Linked DNA regions of Homo sapiens: regions 1 and 2 are each linked to region 3. Evidence: promoter capture Hi-C in human tissues and cell types (Jung and others, 2019). All regions are on one chromosome and are shown on one strand. Each heading gives the region's core, a stretch centred on a gene start or on the middle of the fragment in contact. The rest is flanking DNA. Distances are from core to core; before and after follow the strand shown.

Region 1 (3,485 bases), core at 836-3,335, 1.0 Mb after region 3:
TTCAGTATTTCCGAGGCTGCTATATATTGCTTTCTTCTTTGGAATATTGCAAAATTCTTTGAGTCTTGTTCAAGTTTTAATGTGACATTATTTGAAAGGAATGTTTAGTTGTATTCAGTGTTTACGTAACACCTGCCGGTTTATTCTCTGAGTAATTTACAGCTCCTCTAGGGAATAGGAAAGTAACCACAAGGTAATCTGGCAGAAGAGGGGTTCTTTCTATAAATGCCAACCTGAGTGGTTAAACATGAAAAATTCGATCAAACAACTTGAGCTCTTGTCTATGTGATGCCAAAGACACACTTTTTACCCCCGAGTTAAAATAGTTACTTTGATATCACATAAACACAACTCATGGAATCAACATTGAATTTAAAAGGCATTGTAGGACTGAGATCCAGACCCTTTCCCCCTTGCTGCCACAGGCTGCATATACTTGAAGGGCTGCTTTATAGTGCAGCAGAAAAAAAATCTAGGAGTTTATGTTTGTCTTAGTAAGTGGCTTAGAAAAGGAACTAGAGATAGTTTATGCTTTTTCCCATATTCAGCTCAAATACCATTGAGAATTTTTTTTTCCAGATCTGAAGGGTGGGGGAACTTGTAGGTTTGGATTTTATATGTACATGTATGTGAGTTTCTGAATCAAGGTATTTCTGTTTCCACATGCTTTTTTAGCTGGCTTTATAAGTAATACTTACACTGTTTCTACCTGATTTTTCAAGTAATACATATTCACTTACAAAAAAAAAAAAAGACTACAAGCCGGCTACGTTGGCTCATGCCTGTAATCCCAGCACTTTGGGAGGCCAAGGCAGGAGGATTGCTTGAAGCCAGGAGTTTGAGACCAGCCCGGGTAACAAAGGAAGACCCTACCCCCAACCTGTCTCTACAAAAAAAAAAATTAATTAGTTAAAAATATGCATGTTGTAGCATCTATCAGTACTTCATTTCTTTTAAAAAAGACTACAATAAAATATTATTTTATAGCCACTTTATTAATTAAATTAAGAGATTTGGCATTCCAAGTACTGGAGAGGATATAAATCAACAGCATCTTTTATATGTCAAGAGTTTAATTGGTTTAACTACACTGAAAAATAATTTGGTATTATGTTGAAGAGTTGAGAATTCATAAACCTATGGCACAACAATTGTACTCCTTAGACTATGCCCAAAGGAACACGTACCAGGAATTATATACAAGAATGTTTACAGCAACCCTGTAACAGCAATAAGTAAACCAACCAACCAACAAAAACTGGAAACAATCGAAATGCCCAGCGACTAGGAAATGTATAAATTAACCATTGAATAATTAAGCATCAGTGAAAATGAGTGAGTTATAACTACATGCAACAGGCTGTATTAATCCAAGTAACATACTGCTGAATAAGAAAAGCAAGTCTCAGAAGACTGCATACAACATGATGTCCTTTAGTAAAGTTCAAAAGCAATGTGTACTAAACAACATTTCATTTCAGCATACACACATATAATAAAAAAGAAAAGTAAGAGAATGATAAACCCCAATTTAGGAAAATGATTATTTATGGCAGGAAAGCAAAAGCATGCAATAGGGAAGAGTATATGGGAGGGTTGAATCATTGTTATTGTTCTAATTATTGGATTATGTGGTAATTTGTGGGTGTTTGTTATGTTACCAAGAAATAAAATGAGACCATGCTATGAATGGGCCAAGGATGGTAGCATGCCATTAACCAAGAATGAAGATGAATCCAATTCTGTGTACCTGAAGTCCAGAGTTTAAAAATAAAGGACAGTAATTGTATACAAGCATAATAAGAAAAATCCATATTACCTGAAAGTACTTTTCTCAGTTTTAGGTAAACAGGAACCAGCTTCCTTATCTCTTCTTGGACTGCCATTCTTAGTAGGACTTCCACTCTCAGGAAGGCTAAAGCCAAAGGCGCATGCTGACCGAGGCTATGCTCTTTTAAAAGGATCCTCAAAGTCCCATTTAGCTTCTATGAGGCTTTTTAAAATCTCTGCCTTTATTAATCCTGCTGGTTCCCACCAACTTCTCTCTATTCCCTTCTCTCTTTCACATTGCTTCTGTTTATTATCTCTCATTGCTTCTGATTATTCATGACCTCAGTATCTTACCTTCTCTGTTATTTGGCTTTGTTCCCAAAACAAATGATTCATTCCAATGCCTTACATTGAGAACTCCTTGGGAGAGATCTATTTGGGAAAAGCTCATATATCAACAACCTAAAATGTCTCTAACCAGTAGATCGATTGCCTGCCCTGATTCATTCACTTGGGACCACAGGTAACAGCAAGGCAACTTTTGGGAAAATCTCATTTGAGAAGGGCTGTGGGCATGCTGGACATTCCCAAACGTGGCCCATCCAGGACAAGCCAGCTCATAATGTACAGCAACATAGGCAGGAAGAGCATAAAGTGATTAGGAAGAGGGAGGATTTCTATCTCCTTATGGTTTCAGGGAACATTAGCAACTCATTTTAGACTAATGTGTAAAGGATTCTTGGAGGAGGTTTTTTTGTGTTTTGTTTTTTAAAGGAAAAGGAAGGAATTTCACATTGACTTGGGAAAGCCTTAAACAAAGAATTGAGGAGAAAGGAATGAGCCTGCAATGAACGGAAGTGGGTTGAAATATTAGGATGTCTGACATGGTAAGAGAAGAGAGAAAGAGAGTCTGGTGTAACTGGTAGAGAGAGATTGGTGACAATATTAATCAATCCATTCATTCAACAAACATTTATTTTTGAATAGATACATGTACATGAATTAAAATATGTTAACCACTGATAATAGTGCCAGGTTTTGTTCCAGGTCTTGCTATATACCAGTAAATAAAACCACAAAAATATCTGCCCTGTGGAATTTATATTCTATTATTATTTAAGTTGGGTGCTTAAATAACTTGACTCACTTTATCTTCATGGGAGTACTCTGAAGTAGAGTCATCTATATGAGCTTGCGTGATCTACTCTCTGCCAGGCTCCACTCCAAAAGTTTTACACACTTTACTTCAGATACTCCTTACAACAACTCTATGAGTCAAGGTAATGTTATCACCCTCATTTTAGAGGTGGGAAAACTGAAGCATGTGGATAGGTTAAGTCACACAAGCAATAGGTGATAGAGCTGGGATTTAACTAGTGGATCTAGCTTCAGAGTCTGTGATTCTTGTTACTTTGTGATGCTACTTTTCTGCTGTGCTGTAATATTATTCAAGACACAGAGGTAGGTATCAAAACTCAGGTCTGACTCCACACAGTAGGTATTCTGGCTACAGTCATACACCATAAAATTGAGACTTTGAACTTGATCTATAGAACCATCAGAAGTTGTTAAGGAGTTTCGTGAAGGAGGTACAATGGCCCAAACAGGGAGAAGTAGAAAAAGAGAAAGAATGAAGGTGGTAGATTCAAGTAGGAAGTTGCAGACATCTAGGTGAGGGTGAAGAGTGTACAGATCAATGACTAACATGGGAATAA
Region 2 (3,961 bases), core at 1,000-3,499, 1.2 Mb after region 3:
CCTGTTGTAACCAAACAACCCATATACCATTTAATCTCTTCTCTCTCTTTTTTTAATTAATTAATTAATTTTTTATTATACTTAAATTCTAGGGTACATGTGCACAACGTGCAGGTTTGTTACATGTGTATACATGTGCCATGTTGCTGTGCTGCACCCATTAACTCATCATTTACTTAGGTATATCTCCTAATGCTATCTCTCCCCCTCCCCCCACCCCATGACAGGCCCCAGTGTGTGATGTTCCCCTTCCTGTGTCCAAGTGTTCTCATTATTCAGTTCCCACCTATGAGTGAGAACACTCAGTGTTTGGTTTTCTGTCCTTGCGATAGTTTGCTAAAAATGATGGTTTCCAGCTACATCCATGTCCCTACAAAGGACATGAACTCATCATCTATTATGGTTGCATAGTATTCCATGGTGTATATGTGCCATATTTTCTTAATCCAGTCTATCATTGTTGGACATTTGGGTTGGTTCCAAGTCTTTGCTATTGTGAATAATGCCGCAATAAACATACGTGTGCATGTGTCTTTATAGCAGCATGATTTATAATCCTTTGGGTATATGCCCAGTAATGAGATGACTGGGTCAAATGATATTTCTAGTTCTAGATCCTTGAGGAATCACCACACTGTCTTCCACAATGGTTGAACTAGTTTACAGTCCCACCAACAGTGTAAAAGTGTTCCTATTTCTCCACATCCTCTCCAGCACCTGTTGTTTCCTGACTTTTTAATGATCGCCATTCTAACTGGTGTGAGATGGTATCTCACTCTGGTTTTGATTTGCATTTCTCTGATGGCCAGTGATGATGAGCATTTTTCCATGTGTCTTTTGGCTGCATAAATGTCTTCTTTTGAGAAGTGTCTGTTCATATCCTTCGCCCACCTGTTGATGGGGTTGTTTGTTTTTTTCTTGTAAATTTGTTTAAGTTCTTTGTAGATTCTGGATAGTAGCCCTTTTTCAGATGAGTAGATTGCAAAAATTTTCTCCCGTTCTGCAGGCTGCCTGTTCACTCTGATGGTAGTTTCTTTTGCTGTGCAGAAGCTCTTTAGTTTAATTAGATCCCATTTGTCAATTTTGGCTTTTGTTACCATTGCTTTTGGTGTTTTAGATGTGAAGTCCTTGCCCATGCCTATGTCCTGAATGGTATTGCCTGGTTTTCTTCTAGGGTTTTTATGGTTTTAGTTTAACATTTAAGTCTTTAATCCATCTTGAATTAATTTTTGTATAAGGTATAAGGAAGGGATCCAGTTTCAGCTTTCTACATATGGCTAGCCAGTTTTCCCAGCACCATTTATTAAATAGGGAATCCTTTCCCCACTGCTTGTTTTTCTCAGGTTTGGCAAAGATCAGATGGTTGTAGATGTGTGGTATTACTTCTGAGGGCTCTGTTCTGTTCCATTTGTCTATATCTCTGTTTTGGTACCAGTACCATGCTGTTTTCATTACTATAGCCTTGTAGTATAGTTTGAAGTCAGGTAGTGTGATGCCTCCAGCTTTGTTCTTTTGGCTTAGGATTGTCTTGGCGATGTGGGCTCTTTTTTGGTTTCATATGAACTTTAAAGTAGCTTTTTCCAATTCTGTGAAGAAAGTCATTGGTAGCTTGATGGGGATGGCATTGAATCTATAAATTACCTTGGGCAGTATGGCAATTTTCACAATGTTGATTCTTCCTATCCATGAGTATGGAATGTTCTTCCATTTGTTTGTGTCCTCTTTTATTTCATTGAGCAGTGGTTTGTAGTTCTCCTTGAAGAGGTCCTTCACATCCCTTGCAAGTTGGATTCCTAGGTATTTTATTCTCTTTGAAGCAACTGTGAATGGGAGTTCACTCATGATTTGGCTCTCTGTTTGTCTGTTATTGGTGTATAAGAATGCTTGTGATTTTTGCACATTGATTTTGTATCCTGAGACTTTGCTGAAGCTGCCTATCAGCTTAAGGAGATTTTGGGCTGAAATGGTGGGGTTTTCTAAATAAACAATCATGTCATCTGCAAACAGGGACAATTTGACTTCCTCTTTTCCTAACTGAATACCCTTTATTTCTTTCTCCCGCCTGATTGCCCTGGCCAGAACTTCCAACACTATGTTGAATAGGAGGGGTGAGAGAGGGCATCCCTGTCTTGTGCCCGTTTTCAAAGGGAATGCTTCCAGTTTTTACCCATTCAGTATGATATTGGCTGTGGGTTTTTCATAAATAGCTCTTATTATTTTGAGATATGTCCCATCAGTACCTAATTTATTGAGAGTTTTTAGCATGAAGGGCTGTTGAATTTTGTCAAAGGCCTTTTCTGCATCTATTGAGATAATCATGTGGTTTTTGTCTTTGGTTCTGTTTACATGCTGGATTACGTTTATTGATTTTCGTATGTTGAATCAGACTTGCATCCCAGGGATGAAGCCTACTCATTCATGGTGGATAAGCCTTTTGATGTGCTGCTGGATTCGGTTTGCCAGGATTTTATTGAGGATTTTTGCATCAATGTTCATCAGGGATATTGGTCTAAAATTCTCTTTTTTGTGTGTGTCTCTGTCAGGCTTTGGTATCAGGATGATGCTGGCTTCATAAAATGAGTTAGGGAGGATTCCCTCTTTTTCTATTGATTGGAATAGTTTCAGATGGAATGGTACCAGCTCCTCCTTGTACGTCTGCTAGAATTCGGCTGTGAATCCATCTGATCCTGGACTTTTTTTGATTGGTAGGCTATTAATTATTGCCTCAATTTCAGAGCCTGTTATTTGTCTTTTCAGAGATTCAACTTCTTCCTGGTTTAGTCTTGGGAGGGTGTATGTGTCCACGAATATCTCCATTTCTTCTAGACTTTCTAGTTTATTTGCATAGAGGTGTTTATAGTATTCTCTGATGGTAGTTTGTATTTCTGTGGGATTGGTGGTGATATCCCCTTTATCATTTTTAATGCGTCTATTTGATTCTTCTCTCTTTTCTTCTTTATTAATCTTGCTAGCGGTCTATCAATTTTGTTGATCTTTTCAAAAAACCAGCTCCTGGATTCATTGATTTTTTTGTGTCTCTATCTCCTTTAGTTCGGCTCTGATCTTAGTTGTTTCTTGCCTTCTGCTACCTTTTGAATGTGTTTGCTCTTGTTTCTCTAGTTCTTTTAATTGTGATGTTAGGGTGTCAGTTTTAGATCTTTCCTGCTTTCTCTTGTGGGCATTTAGTACTATAAATTTCCCTCTACACACTGCTTTAAATGTGTCTCAGAGATTCTGGTATGTTGTGTCTTTGTTCCCATTGATTTCAAAGAACATCTTTATTTCTGCCTTCATTTTGTTATGTACCCAGTAGTCATTCAGAGGCAGGTTGTTCAGTTTCCATGTAGTTGAGCAGTTTTGAGTGAGTTTCTTAATCCTGAGTTCTAGTTTGATTGCACTGTGGTCTGAGAGACAGTTTGTTATAATTTCTGTTCTTTTACATTTGCTGAGGAGTGCTTTACTTCCAACTATGTGGTCAATTTTGGAATAAGTGTGATGTGGTGCTGAAAAGAATGTATATTCTGTTGATTTGGGGTGGAGAGTTCTGTAGATGTCTATCAGGTCCTCTTGGTGCAGAGCTGAGTTCAATTCCTGGATATCCTTGTTAACTTTCTGTCTTGTTGATCTGTCTAATGTTGACAGTGGGGTGTTAAAGTCTCCCATTATTATTGTGTGGGAGTCTAAGTCTCTTTGTAGGTCCCTAGGGACTTGTTTTGTGCATCTGGGTGCTCCTGTATTGGGTGCATATATGTTTAGGATAGTTAGCTCTTCTTGTTGAATTGATCCCTTTACCATTATGTAATGGCCTTCTTTGTCTCTTTTGATCTTTGTTGGTTTAAAGTCTCTTTTATCAGAGACTAGGATTGCAACTCCTGCCTTTTTTTGTTTTCCATTTGCTTGGTAGATCTTCCTCCATCCCTTTATTTTGAGCCTATCTTTGTCTCTGCATATGAGATGGGCC
Region 3 (3,667 bases), core at 1-2,500:
GCGCTTCCCCACTCGGTTCCCCCTGTCTGCCACAAACAAACCAGATGTAATAGCTGAAGAATGACGACACTAAAATCAACCTAGAGATTCACATCTAAAAGGGCCGCAACACGAAATAAACTTCTCTCTCTTCAGAGGCAGCGGGGAAGAAAAAGAAAAAAAAGCCTAGGTGGGTTCGGTTTGATCCATTTCCGCGACTCCGTGCGCTCAGGGGCTCTGGGCTGGTGCGGGCGGCTTAACCCTGTGAGAGCCGAGAACGACCCCACCGGGATACGCGGGCCCCGGGCTGGCGGGGGGTGCCTCACGCCGCGCCCGTTCCCCCGCCAGCAGGTGCCCGAAGCCACCCCAACAGGCCGGGTGCGAATGCCGGAACATGGCCACTTTCCTGAGCGGGATGATGCCGCCGCCGCCGCCGCACGCCGCCCAGCACTTTGTTAACTTGGCGCGCCCGGGCGAGGTGGCTCCCAGGAGGTGATCATTGCCGTCCGAGAGCTACAGAGCCCCTGGCCTCGCCCAGCACGGGTGTGGGGCCGCGGCGGGAGGAAGAGGTTGGGTAGCAGCCGCTAACCAGGGGCCCGCACGCCTGGCCCCTCGGAGCCCCGCGCCCCCTTCCCAGGTGCTTACCTGAGGGAAGGAGCCCTCGCGGCGCGGGTTCCTGGGGTAGTCTAAGTGACCCCGGTCCAGCATCAGGTAGAGCGAGAAAATCACCACACAGAAGATCGCACTGCCGAACACGGTGAACTGGCGGCTTAACTTCATTTTCCTCGATAGACTCGGGGCCAGGACACTCTCCTCAGCCAAAGGAGACAGCGCACTGTGGACTCTAGGAAGCAGCCGCCGGAGGCTCCCTTCTCCCGGGCTGCGCGACCTCCGCGCTCTCGGATGCGGGTGCGAGTCCCCGCCTTGCTCCGCACCTAGTCTCCGGCGCCACCACACGCCCTTGGCCTTCGCCCTGGCCTGCCGCCCTCCCCGGGGTCGGGCGCCCCTCTCGAGGCGAGACTCGCCGGCAACTGGGAAGGGGGGCCCCCACAAACTTGATCGCAAGCTCAGCGCCGACCTCCGGCAGGGCGCGCGGGGCAGGCGGAGGAGAGGTCGCTGCCCGCACTTCCTGCCACCGCCGCCCCAACTGAGTCGGCAGGAAAAGTTTTCTCGACGAGGGCAGGCGTGTCCTCCTCACCCAGGGGAGGCGCGGGTTCGGCAGCTCCCGGGCCGGGGCCGCGCAGCTAGGTCAGAGAAGCGGAGGGGAAAGGAACAAGATCGCGAGGAGCCAAGCCCTACAACTTCTGGGCGGGACGGTCGGGCCCGCCCCCGCGGCACCGGCACCGCCCCCGCCTACCCCGACTGAGCCCCTTCGTGCTGCTGCCGCCGCCGCCGCCGACGCTGCGGCTGGGCCGATGTGCACCCCGGACTCCGGGGCTCACGGATTGATGAGTTTCCTCAGAGCTAGCGTCCGCTCGCCAGACTCTCCCGCCCCCCGCCGCCCCTACCTTCCCCCTCCCGGACCCAGGCTCCGCGGGGAGGCGCAGGGGGCGGGCGGCGGCAACGCGGAAAGAAGGAAAAGGAGAGCAGGGAGGAAAGGACCGTCCCCGGAGAGAAGCCCGCTCCAGCTGCAGCCGCTAGCCCCCTCCCTCTTTCCCGCCCCACAAACGCGGAGATGGCGGCGGAAGCGGCGAAAGGAAGCGCCGGTTCTCCAGCGCCACTTGGCGCTCCAGCACCGCCCGCCACGAGCAGGAGGAGACAGCGGCGGCGCAGCAGCCGCTGGGTCAATAGGCGCCCGCAGCGCCTGAGCCGAGCGGGCGGCTGGCCCCGCCCCCTCCCGACGCTCCGAGATGAGGGGGCGGGCCCCACGGCGCCCAATCACAGCGCGTCGCCCGGCGGACCCGCCCCGCGCCTGCCTCCCAGTGTCCCGGCGATAGGAAGACCTCACAGGGCTCTTGTGACCTGGCAGGCAGCTTTCTGGGAGTTGAGGCCTTCGGGGGCGTTCAGGCGCCAGCACCCCCACGTCCAACAGGGGTTGAGCTTACACCCCACTTCCCTTTGTTGCTCAGGTTTCCTATCCTAGGACACTCGGGCCTGGCGTGCCTGGAAGAGTACTTGGTGACGGGCTGGAGGAAATGCAAGAGAAGAGGGCTTGCACATTCTCTTCGGGCTCACTATTTCCTCCTTTGGTGACAGCCTGTTAAAACCTGGGGGAAAGGAGACTGACAAAGGGCCGTCCAGGCACATGTAGAAACATCTGACTACGAAATCCATGAGTGTAATCTGAGAAGTGATGCTTCTGCCAGTTATTGATTTATTGCCTCTCAGCTCCAAATTCGCCCTTTTTGACTGCACTGTAAAAACGGATCTGAGCCTTTTAAACAGTTTTTCGTTTGCCTTCTGGGACTGAAGCTTTATCAGCAGAGGGCGCTGAAGAGACATTACAGAAAAAAAGGATTTTGCTTCCTGATTTCTGTGTATTGATAAGCTTTTGCAGCATACCTGGCTTTCTCCACTGCCAAGGTCCTATAGTGCTCAGTAACTAGCAATTTCCTCTCACATGCCCAACTCTAGGAGCTTTGTAGAGGAGGTGAGACACTACCCCATGAATAACTTCCCTGGCACCCTAGAGGCATTTGCAGCAAGTTGCAGAGGGCACATCTTCCACAAGCTTTGCAGACGTAGCCCAATGGTGACTTCTCTGCCATTCAGTGAGCCAGGTCATGCCCTCTCCAAAAACGTCTAGATCTTAGCCCTGGGAGGAATTGGGGAGGTTCTTCATTGGGCACTCTGTCTCTCAACCCAAGAGTTAGTTATAAGGTTAGCTCCTTATAGCTGCTGTTGCTATATTCTTTAAAGTTCTCTTCTTGCTAGTGAATCCTTCATTACTCTAATCCTCTATTATAGTTAACAATTCTTTTTATTAAGCCTTCCCTGTCCCGGGAGTAGTCCCAAGAAATAGACCTGCAAAGATGGGATTAAAGGTCAGTTTGATTGAGGTTTTGAGCTTTAGCTCCTTGCCAAAGGGAAATGTAATTCATGACATGCTGGGCATCTCAATTAAGCAATTACCTGTGGTTGATCCTGATGAAGTGCCAACTGAAGCCTGTGCCTTGGGGCCCCAAGTGGCTGCTACACTTGACTGCTATGGTTATAAAGATGACTAGAAAGACTGGTGTGGGATGGATTCTTTTGCGTGCTTTTGAGTGGTTATAAAGAGAAATGACAAGCACAGGTTTTTTAACTCTCAGAGTTATGGTATGAGAACCAGAGATATTCTGCAGAATTCCAAAAGCTCTGGTTTATTGTAGCAACAAGAATTATGCTGAGAATCAAACAAAATTTTAATTTTCATGTTACTGAATTATAACTGCTATTAAATTCACACATATTCTGAGTTTTTCGTGTAAAATGGTGTTATTTTTTAATAATAGAATCTCAATACTTGAAATGGGTTGGACCCAGATGAAACCGACAATCTTAAACACGCCAACTCTTTCTCTTATCAGTGGAAGTAGGTTGCCCTCCAGTGTCTAAAGAGACTAGCCTTGCTTGAAAACCTTGACTATAGAGGATGCCACTATCTAGATGGGCTCCCTGATTTCAATGGGGATGACACGATCTCAGAATAGCAGAAACCAGGCAGCACATAACCAACAAAGACAAGGTGGGCGCACATGTACCTTAA

The links. The method cuts DNA at HindIII sites, captures the fragments that hold promoters and counts their contacts. A contact is called where the count stands out against the background at its distance.
Region 1: a fragment that was not itself captured here is called in contact with the fragment with the promoter of MAN2A1 in region 3 in 1 of the 25 tissues and cell types used here (dorsolateral prefrontal cortex).
Region 2: a contact is called between a fragment that was not itself captured here and the fragment with the promoter of MAN2A1 in region 3, in 1 of the 25 tissues and cell types used here (lymphoblastoid cells).

What each region holds. Positions count from the first base shown.
Region 1 is chr5:108,652,927-108,656,411 of GRCh38, reverse strand. No RefSeq gene overlaps it. Among named protein-coding and RNA genes, the nearest start is that of LINC01023, 74 kb to the left of the region's middle. The HindIII fragment of the contact is 7,306 bases long and covers 1-3,485 here.
Region 2 is chr5:108,492,667-108,496,627 of GRCh38, reverse strand. No RefSeq gene overlaps it. Among named protein-coding and RNA genes, the nearest start is that of FBXL17, 110 kb to the right of the region's middle. The HindIII fragment of the contact is 5,361 bases long and covers 1-3,961 here.
Region 3 is chr5:109,687,510-109,691,176 of GRCh38, reverse strand. It overlaps MAN2A1 (mannosidase alpha class 2A member 1), which reads right to left and starts at 1,250. Exons shown (of 22, transcript NM_002372.4): 1 at 625-1,250. The coding sequence starts at 759. It overlaps MAN2A1-DT (MAN2A1 divergent transcript), which reads left to right and starts at 78. Exons shown (of 1, transcript NR_186543.1): 1 at 78-3,376. RefSeq lists silencers at 387-486, 897-1,106, 1,137-1,656, 1,667-1,956 and enhancers at 2,067-2,166, 1,926-2,594. The HindIII fragment of the contact is 4,319 bases long and covers 1-3,301 here.